Linked DNA regions of Homo sapiens: regions 1 and 2 are each linked to region 3. Evidence: promoter capture Hi-C in 16 types of primary human blood cells and fetal thymus (Javierre and others, 2016). All regions are on one chromosome and are shown on one strand. Each heading gives the region's core, a stretch centred on a gene start or on the middle of the fragment in contact. The rest is flanking DNA. Distances are from core to core; before and after follow the strand shown. Region 1 holds the start of POMC (proopiomelanocortin). Region 2 holds the start of EFR3B (EFR3 homolog B). Region 3 overlaps LOC105374329 (a long non-coding RNA gene).

Evidence for each region. The method cuts DNA at HindIII sites, captures the fragments that hold promoters and counts their contacts. A CHiCAGO score of 5 or more calls a contact.
Region 1: the fragment with the promoter of POMC here is called in contact with a fragment that was not itself captured in region 3 in 1 of 17 cell types (naive B cells); the score reaches 6.4 in naive B cells.
Region 2: a contact is called between the fragment with the promoter of EFR3B here and a fragment that was not itself captured in region 3, in 1 of 17 cell types (fetal thymus). The highest score is 5.3, in fetal thymus.

The regions. Positions count from the first base shown.
Region 1 is chr2:25,167,272-25,169,971 of GRCh38, forward strand. It overlaps POMC (proopiomelanocortin), which reads right to left and starts at 1,309. Exons shown (of 3, transcript NM_000939.4): 1 at 1,227-1,309. RefSeq lists a promoter at 1,183-1,995, cis regulatory regions at 1,334-1,346, 1,412-1,585, 1,586-1,611 and an enhancer at 1,406-1,425. The HindIII fragment of the contact is 11,223 bases long and covers 1-2,700 here.
Region 2 is chr2:25,040,735-25,043,434 of GRCh38, forward strand. EFR3B (EFR3 homolog B) reads left to right here and starts at 1,342. Exons shown (of 23, transcript NM_014971.2): 1 at 1,342-1,585. The coding sequence starts at 1,579. RefSeq lists enhancers at 350-1,299, 1,300-2,248 and silencers at 1,206-1,825, 1,956-2,035, 2,146-2,275, 2,606-2,700. The HindIII fragment of the contact is 2,761 bases long and covers 739-2,700 here.
Region 3 is chr2:24,404,424-24,407,123 of GRCh38, forward strand. It overlaps LOC105374329 (a long non-coding RNA gene), which reads left to right. Exons shown (of 3, transcript XR_001739340.3): 2 at 339-453. Among named protein-coding and RNA genes, the nearest start is that of ITSN2, 45 kb to the left of the region's middle. The HindIII fragment of the contact is 6,674 bases long and covers 1-2,700 here.

The sequences.
Region 1 (2,700 bases), core at 59-2,558, 760 kb after region 3:
GACACACACACAAAAAAAATCCACACACACTTTTATTTTCCTTGGCTCCTTCCAGCCATTCTGTAAGAACCCTCCCTGCCCCATTTAAACATGAAGAATTTGGGGAATCCAAATGCCAAGTGGACTGTCTCTCCTTCGCTGGAAACGCCCCTTACCTGAGCCTTGATCATTCCAAATGGCTGCCCGTGCCCTCAACCCAGGATCTGCGCCATAAACCGTCCACCCCGGTTCTGTTGAGGGCATCCGAAACTAGACAGTGCGTTTCAGGATCTAGGACAGCTCCCGCCCCGGCCACCTGTTTTTAACCCCAGCTAGGTCTTGGAGAGAAGAGACCCAACTATTCTGCATTGTAATTGACCCAGTTATCATGTAATTATCATAGCGCGGCCACCTCGGGTGCGCTAAGGTGGGCAAGGAAACAAGGATTCAGGGGTCTGAATCCGAAAAAATCCGGAAGGCAGGGCGTTCATTATGACTTTTATCCTTTTCTCTGCTGCCCCGTTTCCAACATTAATTTGCGATAGCGTGTATGGAATTTGACTTTCAAGATGTGACACCTATCCTGGAAACTGGGAGCAAGAGATACTAAAAGACCGGGCTGGCCGGGGGCGGTGGCTCGCGCCTGTAATGCCAGAACTTTGGGGGGCCAAGGCGGGCGGATCACCTGTTGTCGGGAGTTTGAGACCAGCCTGACCAACATGGAGAAACTCCGTCTCTACTAAAAATACAAAAATTAGCCGGGCGTGGTGGCGCATGCCTGTAATCCCAGCTACTCGGGAGGCTGAAGCAGGAGAATCGCTTGAACCCGGGAGGCGAAGGTTGCGGTGAGCAGAGATCACCCCTTTGCTCTCCAGCATGGGCAACAAGAGCGAAACTCCGTCTCAAAAAAAAAAAAAAAGACCGGGTTGTCCCAAGACCTCCTAGCAAGCTCTCGGAGCCTCCGGACCGCCGCGAGCCCCTGGGGGAGAGGAGGCCGCCGGCTCCCTGGAGACAGCGCCTGCAGCTTCGCGGCCGTCCGCCCAGGGGCCGGACGTGGGCCCTCCAGCTCAGCTACTGGCGGCTTCTCATGCCGCAGTCGGCGCAGAAAGTTTGTCGAGAACTCGGGACCGCGGAGAGCCAGAGGCGCCCAGGTCCGCCTTCGGAGCCGGAGCCGGCCGACTGCATCGCGAGGACGGGGACAGGGGATCCCGGGGAAAGAGCACGGGTCCCCCACGCTGCGCCCTTACCTGTCTCGGGAGGCTGCTCTCTGAGGGCGGGGACGCTCGGCGGCCTCTCTCGGTCGCGGCTCTTCTTCCCCTCCTTCGCCGCCGCTTGGTCCCGCGCTCCTCTGTCCTTATATACTTGCCGAGCTCTCCTGGTGGGCGCGGGACTTTGACCTTCCCGGCAGCACAAGGAGCAGCTCCCCGGGCCAGGGGAAGGGGGGCCGCGGGGCGTGGGAGGGGGGCTTCCAGACGGGGGACGAGCGCGGGGAGACGCGCTGGAAAGGGGCTGGAATTAGCACTGTCCTGCCGAAGGCGCACCTGGCCGCTCGCCCTCAGGAAGAACTTAATTATGGATGGCGTTGGGTCTCCGCTTAGAACGGGCGGGAGGCTTAGCACCCCCGTGTGGGGCAGGCCGGGCAGCCTCTGAGGTCGTTGAGGCGAGGGTGAAGTTACCTGCGTGCGTGCTGGGGCTGGCATCTGCCTGGTTCGCATTTGGCGGTAAATATCACCGTCTGCACACGGGGAGGCCTCCGATTTCCCCATTGTTTGGAAACTGTGATGTGGAAGTCGTGGGGAATCATATTCTCTCTGTTCCACTTTGGGGAGGGGAGGAGGGAGCAGAAGTCAGGAGCCGTCTTGTGGGTGTGAAGGTGAGTTGCACTGCTCCCCTGGGGCCTGCTCTCCAAGGGCCTGGTTTAGGGGAGGCTCCCTTCCGTGTCCCAAGCCTCAAGGAAAAAGTCCTGTTAACCTAAACCATTAAATGGGGAGAGGGTGATGCTGTGAAGAGCAGCTGAAGTGCTTTCCCTGTGGCCTCTGATCCCTCCCTTTGCCATGAGCTGGCAGGGTGGTCTGGGGACTCAGACAATTTTCAACATCCCCCTTGGCCCTGGAGTTCTGGCTTGGCTTTAGTTCCAAATATCAGACCAGAGAGAAGAGTACAGCACTCAAACCAAGCTAAGAGACTCTACCTTAACCTGGAGTAAATAAACAAAACCAAATTGTGCGATGTGGTGGGTGTGGGAGGGAGTATTGGGACTAAACTGGACTTCAAATCAAGACACTTGCTTAATCTGCCAAATGCCAGAACTTTCCTGATTCCCCATGAGATGCTCTTTTGGACTCCAGGACTCTCTTGTGGATTCAGCTTTTCTGGTGACATTGGCTTTACATTCAGCAATCCTTTCCCTTTGGACCACAAGAGAGATCCAAGCTCCGTCACAGTAGACAAGGTGCTTCATCACCCGGCTTTGGCCCCTTTCCAGGGCCATTTCCCAGTTCTCCACCTTGCATCCTGGCACTTCAGCATCCACAACATTCACACTGCTAGAACATGGCTTTCTTGGGTCTCCATTGTCCAAGCTGTTCCCCCAACTAGAACATCCTTCCTCTCTCCAGCCATCCAGGAGCTTGACTCACATCAAGATGTAGCCCATCCATCAGCCCCTGTTCTCTGAAGCCCTCTTTGGCCACTTTTCCTACCAGGGGCATGAGGCATGAC
Region 2 (2,700 bases), core at 92-2,591, 640 kb after region 3:
TCATTGGCCTACAGACACACAGCCCAGCCTAACAACATAAATTAACCTCTCAACGTTAAATGAAGTAAAATGAAGTTCAGTTCTTAAGTATCTTTAAGTTCCTTTCCTCTCTAACTTCTACTAGTAGAATATTTCTACCAGTAGAAAAAAACAAAAGAAAACCCAAACAACTCTCAACCATGGGCCAAGAGAAACTAAGAAATCGATATTGAAAGGCCAGGAGGGGCAGGAGAAGTGGCTCAGGCCTGTAATCTCAGCACTTTGGGAGGCCGAGGCGGGCGGATCACTTGAGGTCAGGAGTTCCAGACCAGCCTGGCCAACATGGTGAAATCCCTTCTCTACCAAAAAATACAAAAATTAGCCGGGCGTGGTGGCACGCACCTGTAGTCCCAGCTACTCTGGAGGCTGAGGTGGAAGAATCGCTTGAACCCAGGAGGCGGAGTTTGCAGGGAGCCGAGATAGTGCCACTGTACTCCACCCTGGGCGAGAGTGAGACTCCATGTCAAAAAAAAAAAAAAAAAAAAAAAAAAAAAAAAAAAAGACGGGAACGTGTGCAATGTAAAGAAGGCTGGATGAGAAGCCCAGGGAAGTCCTGAGCTAGCTTAGGAGAGATCTTCAGGTGTGGGCGTAGGCATGAGCCGCTGCCTCTCTGTGCCTGTTCCTCATAGGGTCACGGCAGGTGCAGAGCTGGAATTCAAGTCGGCGCTGGGGCTCAGCTGGAGAGGATCCTGGCGGCAAAGCTTGCGAATTACACATATAAATCAGGGAGAGGAAAAGCAAGCGGACTTCCTGCAGCCCTTGGGGGTTGGGAGTGGGGTGCGTTTCCTGCGTCCCTGACCCGGGAAGGACGCTGTTTGGTGGTAGCAAGCACCTAGCCAGAGAGTGGCTGGGCACCTAGCCAGAGAGTAGCTGGTAGGGCGCAGCTGAGGGCTGGAGGGCTTCATCAGAGAACGGCGCTCAGCTAAGGTACCTAGCCAGGAGAGGGTGGAAGTCATTCCCCAATTCCCATCCTTGCGCCCCCCGGCTTAGCCCACGCAGCCTGGACAGAACTGGAGGAGGGGTGCACCTGCAGCTCTCAGCGCCCCGGCTGACCTCGAGGACCCCAGGTTAGGGAGAGCTTCCGAGCGCTCCGACAGGAGCAGGGAGTTGGGGTGGGTAGCTCCGCAGGTGCACGCTGCGGCCCTTAGGGCGACAGCCTCGGAAAAGGCGCATCTCCGGCTGTGGGTTTCTCGGGGGCGGGGCGCAGGGGCGGGGCGGGGCGAGGGGCTCGCAGAGGCCTCGGGTTGGCCGAGCCGGGAGGGAGGAGCATTAGTATTAGCATAGCCCCCGCCCCCTGCGCGCAGCAGTGCCCAGCAACCCGAGCGGAGGCGGCCGCTGCAGCCCGGCGCTGAATGGGCTGGCGGCGCCCGGCTCCGTCCTGCCCGCGGCCGGCCCCCGCGTCTGCTCCCTCCCCGCCCGGGCCCCTGTCGGCCGCCGCCAGTCCCCGCCCCGACTGTGAATGAAAGGCGGGCGCCGCCGAGGGCTGGCTGGGAACGCCGCAGCGACGCCGGCCTCTCGAGAGGCGCGCGCCCCGCCGAGATGTACGGTAAGGAGGGCTCCGCGCCCGGGCCCGGGCCCGCGGGGGCGACTCCGCAAACTTCCCCGGCGCGGACCATTGTCCCCCTGCACGGCCCTGGCGCGGGGCCAGGCCGCTGACCTGGTGCCCGGCGGGGCTGTTGCGGTCGCTCTGTGCGCGCGCGTCTGCGCTGCGAGGACAAAGATGCCTCGGGCCGGGGACCCTGGGGTCCTCTCCAGGCCCGGCGCGTGCCGGTGCTGGGCGGTGGTCCTTCGGGGGGCGGAGGCTCAGGGGAAAGCGGGTCTCCCGGAGCCGAGCAGACCGGGAGTGCTGGAGGAGGTGGTCGTGTGGCAGCATTTGCGGAATTAACAAAAGCGGTTTGTGCCTGGGAGTTTTCTGTGGGAAGCCGGTCCAGGGCTGAGGGAGACGCCCGCGGCCGGTCGTCTGCGCGGCTCGGAGAAGGCGGGAGGCGGCGCCGGCGGCGCAGAGGCCCGGGGAGCAGCCAGTGGCCGAGTCTCGTCTCGCCCGCCTGAATGGACTCGGCCTCTGCCTGCCCCTGCCGCCCCGCGGGATCCAGGTTCACCAACTTCCAGATTTTCCCTCCGCAGTGATGAAGGGAGGAGACGCTGCTGAGAGGGTGCAGCACAGCCCTGACCTCTCCCCGCCTCCACCGCCATCCCCTCAACTGCCGTGCAACAGTTAGCCAGACCCTCACGATGCACGGCTCTGCTTGATCATTTGCTAGGACTCCCTCTGGTTTTGCAGGCAGTGTGGGTGAAGAAGAGAGAGCGCGTTGGGTCCCACATTGCAGCTCTGATGAATGGAGCACTGGAGACCTAGACCAGTCTAGGAATGGACTGCATTCCTGAGCCTGCAGCCCACCAAGGGCTGTGCGTGTGTGTGTGATCCCGGTAGACATAAGTCCATGAAAACCCAGGTCTCTGGCAGCTCTTCTAGTGCCAGCAAAATAATTGGAGCTGTGCTCACCTCCCACCCCCACTGCAAGGTAGGGGCTCAGGCTGCACTTGAGGGGTCAGTGTTTGGAGAAGAGTGCGTTCCCAATTTAACCCATCACTGAGGCTGCTCGGCTGCTCAGCTGCCTCGCTCCGCGAACAGACTGTGAGTCACAAAGTTTGTTAGAGGCA
Region 3 (2,700 bases), core at 184-2,683:
TAGCGGGGAGAGAGCAGAGGGTCTGCTTCTTCAAATACTGGCGATCACACCATGGTTTTATATTGTTTTGGAAATAACTTTTAGTTGAAAAACTTCGAGGAGTTCATTGTAAGTTCAATTACAGCTGGAGGGATATAATTTATTGTAATTTATTAGTCATTGAATATCCATGTGCTCCCAAGACTCCCCAGCTCCCTTGCAGTTAGGAGGGCCTATGCGACTCGTTTTGACAAATGAGCCGTGAGTGGAAATGACATGTGTCACTTCTGGGACAAAGCACAAAGAGAAGAGCACTTTATCATTCTTGATTCCTCTCTCTTTTCTTGCCGCAATGACAGCCGAGGCCAAATGTGGAGATGGCATAACCAGAAGAGGGAACGAACTGGCCTGGATGTGACTCATGCTTGGAAGGGAGCTGTCTGGAAGGACCACAGTACCTGCAGCCAACTTTGTGTGAGTGGAAAATAAATAGGTTAAAGCAATACAATTGGGGGATTGTTATTGTAACATAACGTAGTCTATTCCTGGTTAATGCATTAACAATGCCCTCTCTTAACAGTAGCCGCTTTTTAAACTTCCCCCACTTACGTAAAACATAGTTTATAATATCTAACATTCATACTAATTTAAAAGTTTAATATTCACACAGGGAAGACATCTCTTGTTTAAAAATGTTGATGGCAAGGGAATTATTTATTTATTTGTTTAGAGACAGAGTCTCACTATGTTGCCCAGGCTGGACTCAAACTCCTGGATTCAAGTGATTCTCCTGTTCAGCCTCCTGAATAGCTGGTACTATAGGTACATGTCACCATACCCAGCAGAATCATAATTTTTTCTTTTTCTTGAGACAGAGTCTTGCTCTGTCACCCAGGCTGGAGTGCAGTGGTACCATCTCAGCTCACTGTAATCTCCACCTCCTGGGTTCAAGCGATTCTCCTGCCTCAGCCTCCCGAGTAGCTGGGACTACAGGTGCATGACACCACACCTGGCTAATTGTCGTTTGTTTGTTTTTGAGATAGAGTCTCGGTCTGTCGCCCAGGCTGGAGTGCAGTGGTGCAATCTCGGCTCACTGCAACCTCCGCCTCCTGGGTTCAAGCAATTCTCTGCTTCAGCCTCCTGAGTAGCTGGGATTACAGGCCCCCGCCACCATGGCCAGCTAATTTTTTGTATTTTTACTAGAGACGGGGTTTCACCATCTTGGCCAGGCTGGTCTTGAACTGACCTTGTGATCCACCCCCCTTGGCCTCCCAAAATGCTGGGATTAGAGATGTGAGTCACCACGCCGGGCCTAATTTTTGTATTTTTAGCAGAGATGGGGTTTCGCCATTTTGGCCAGGCTGGTCTCAAACTCCTGACCTCAAATGATCTGCCTGCCTTGGCCTCCCAAAGTGGTAGGATTACAGGTGTGAGCCACCGCGCCCAGCCTGTGTGGTGGCATATGCCTGTGATTCCAGCTACTTGGGAGGCTGAGGTGGGAGAATTGCTTGAACCCAGGAGGCGGAGGTTAGTGAGCTGAGACCAAGCCACTGCACTCCAGCCTGGGCGATAGAGTGAGACCCTGTCTCAAAAATAAATAAATAAATACAAATAATTAAAATTAATTTGTAAGAGTTCTTTAAAGTTCTTTCTCAAGAATATTTGATATAACTATAATTTTCCATTCCATGGCTTACCTTTCTACCTTCTTCATGGTGTTTTGTGATGGACAGAAGTTATTAATTTAATTAATTAATTTTTTTTTGAGATGGAGTCTTGCTCTGTCGCCCAGGCTGGAGTGCAGTGATGCGATCTTGGCTCACTGCAACCTCCACCTCCCGGGTTCAAGCAATTTTCCTACCTCAGCCTCCCAAGTAGCTGGGATTACAGGCAAGTGCCACCATGCCTGGCTAATTTTATTTTGTATTTTTAGTAGAGACGGGGTCTCACCGTGTTAGCCAGGATGGTGTCCATTTCCTAACCTCGTGATCTGCCTGCCTAGGCCTCCCAAAGGGCTGAGATTACAGGCGTGAGCCACCGGGCCAAGCCAAAGTTATTAATTTTAATGTGGCTTAATTTATCATTTTCTTTATAGTTAGTGGATTTTTTTTTCCTACTTGAGAAGAAAGTTCCTCTGGTCACTCTTTAATAACACAAGTATTTTTTCCTCATTAGTTTAAAAATCCAAATTTAACCGTATAATATTGAACAGATCTTGGCAGCCTAACCAATAGCCATGACCGACTTTTTCCCTGTTAACAAAGCAGAATTGATGGAAGAAGGGATTAGGAGAAATGTATACCCTGAAAACATAGTGTTTGGCCAAAGGCACCCCACACTTGATGCACTGAATCAGAATTCTTGGATTGGAACTTAGATGTGTGTAATTTTTGTTTTGTTTTGTTTGTTTTTGAGACAGAGTCTTGCTCTGTCGCCCAGGCTGGAGTGCAGTGGCTTGATCTCTGCTCACTACATCCTCCGCCTCCCGGGTTCAGGAGATTCTCCTGCCTCAGCCTTCTGAGCAGCTGGGATTACAGGCGCACACCACCATGCCCAGCTAATTTTTTTTGTTTTTAGTAGAGACGGGGTTTCAGCATGTTGGTCAGGCTGGTCTCAAACTCCTGACCTCGTGATCCACCCGCCTCGGCCTCCCAAAGTGTTGGGGTTACAGGCCACTGTGCCTGGCCAGTTTTTGTATTTTTAATAGTGATGGGGTTTTAC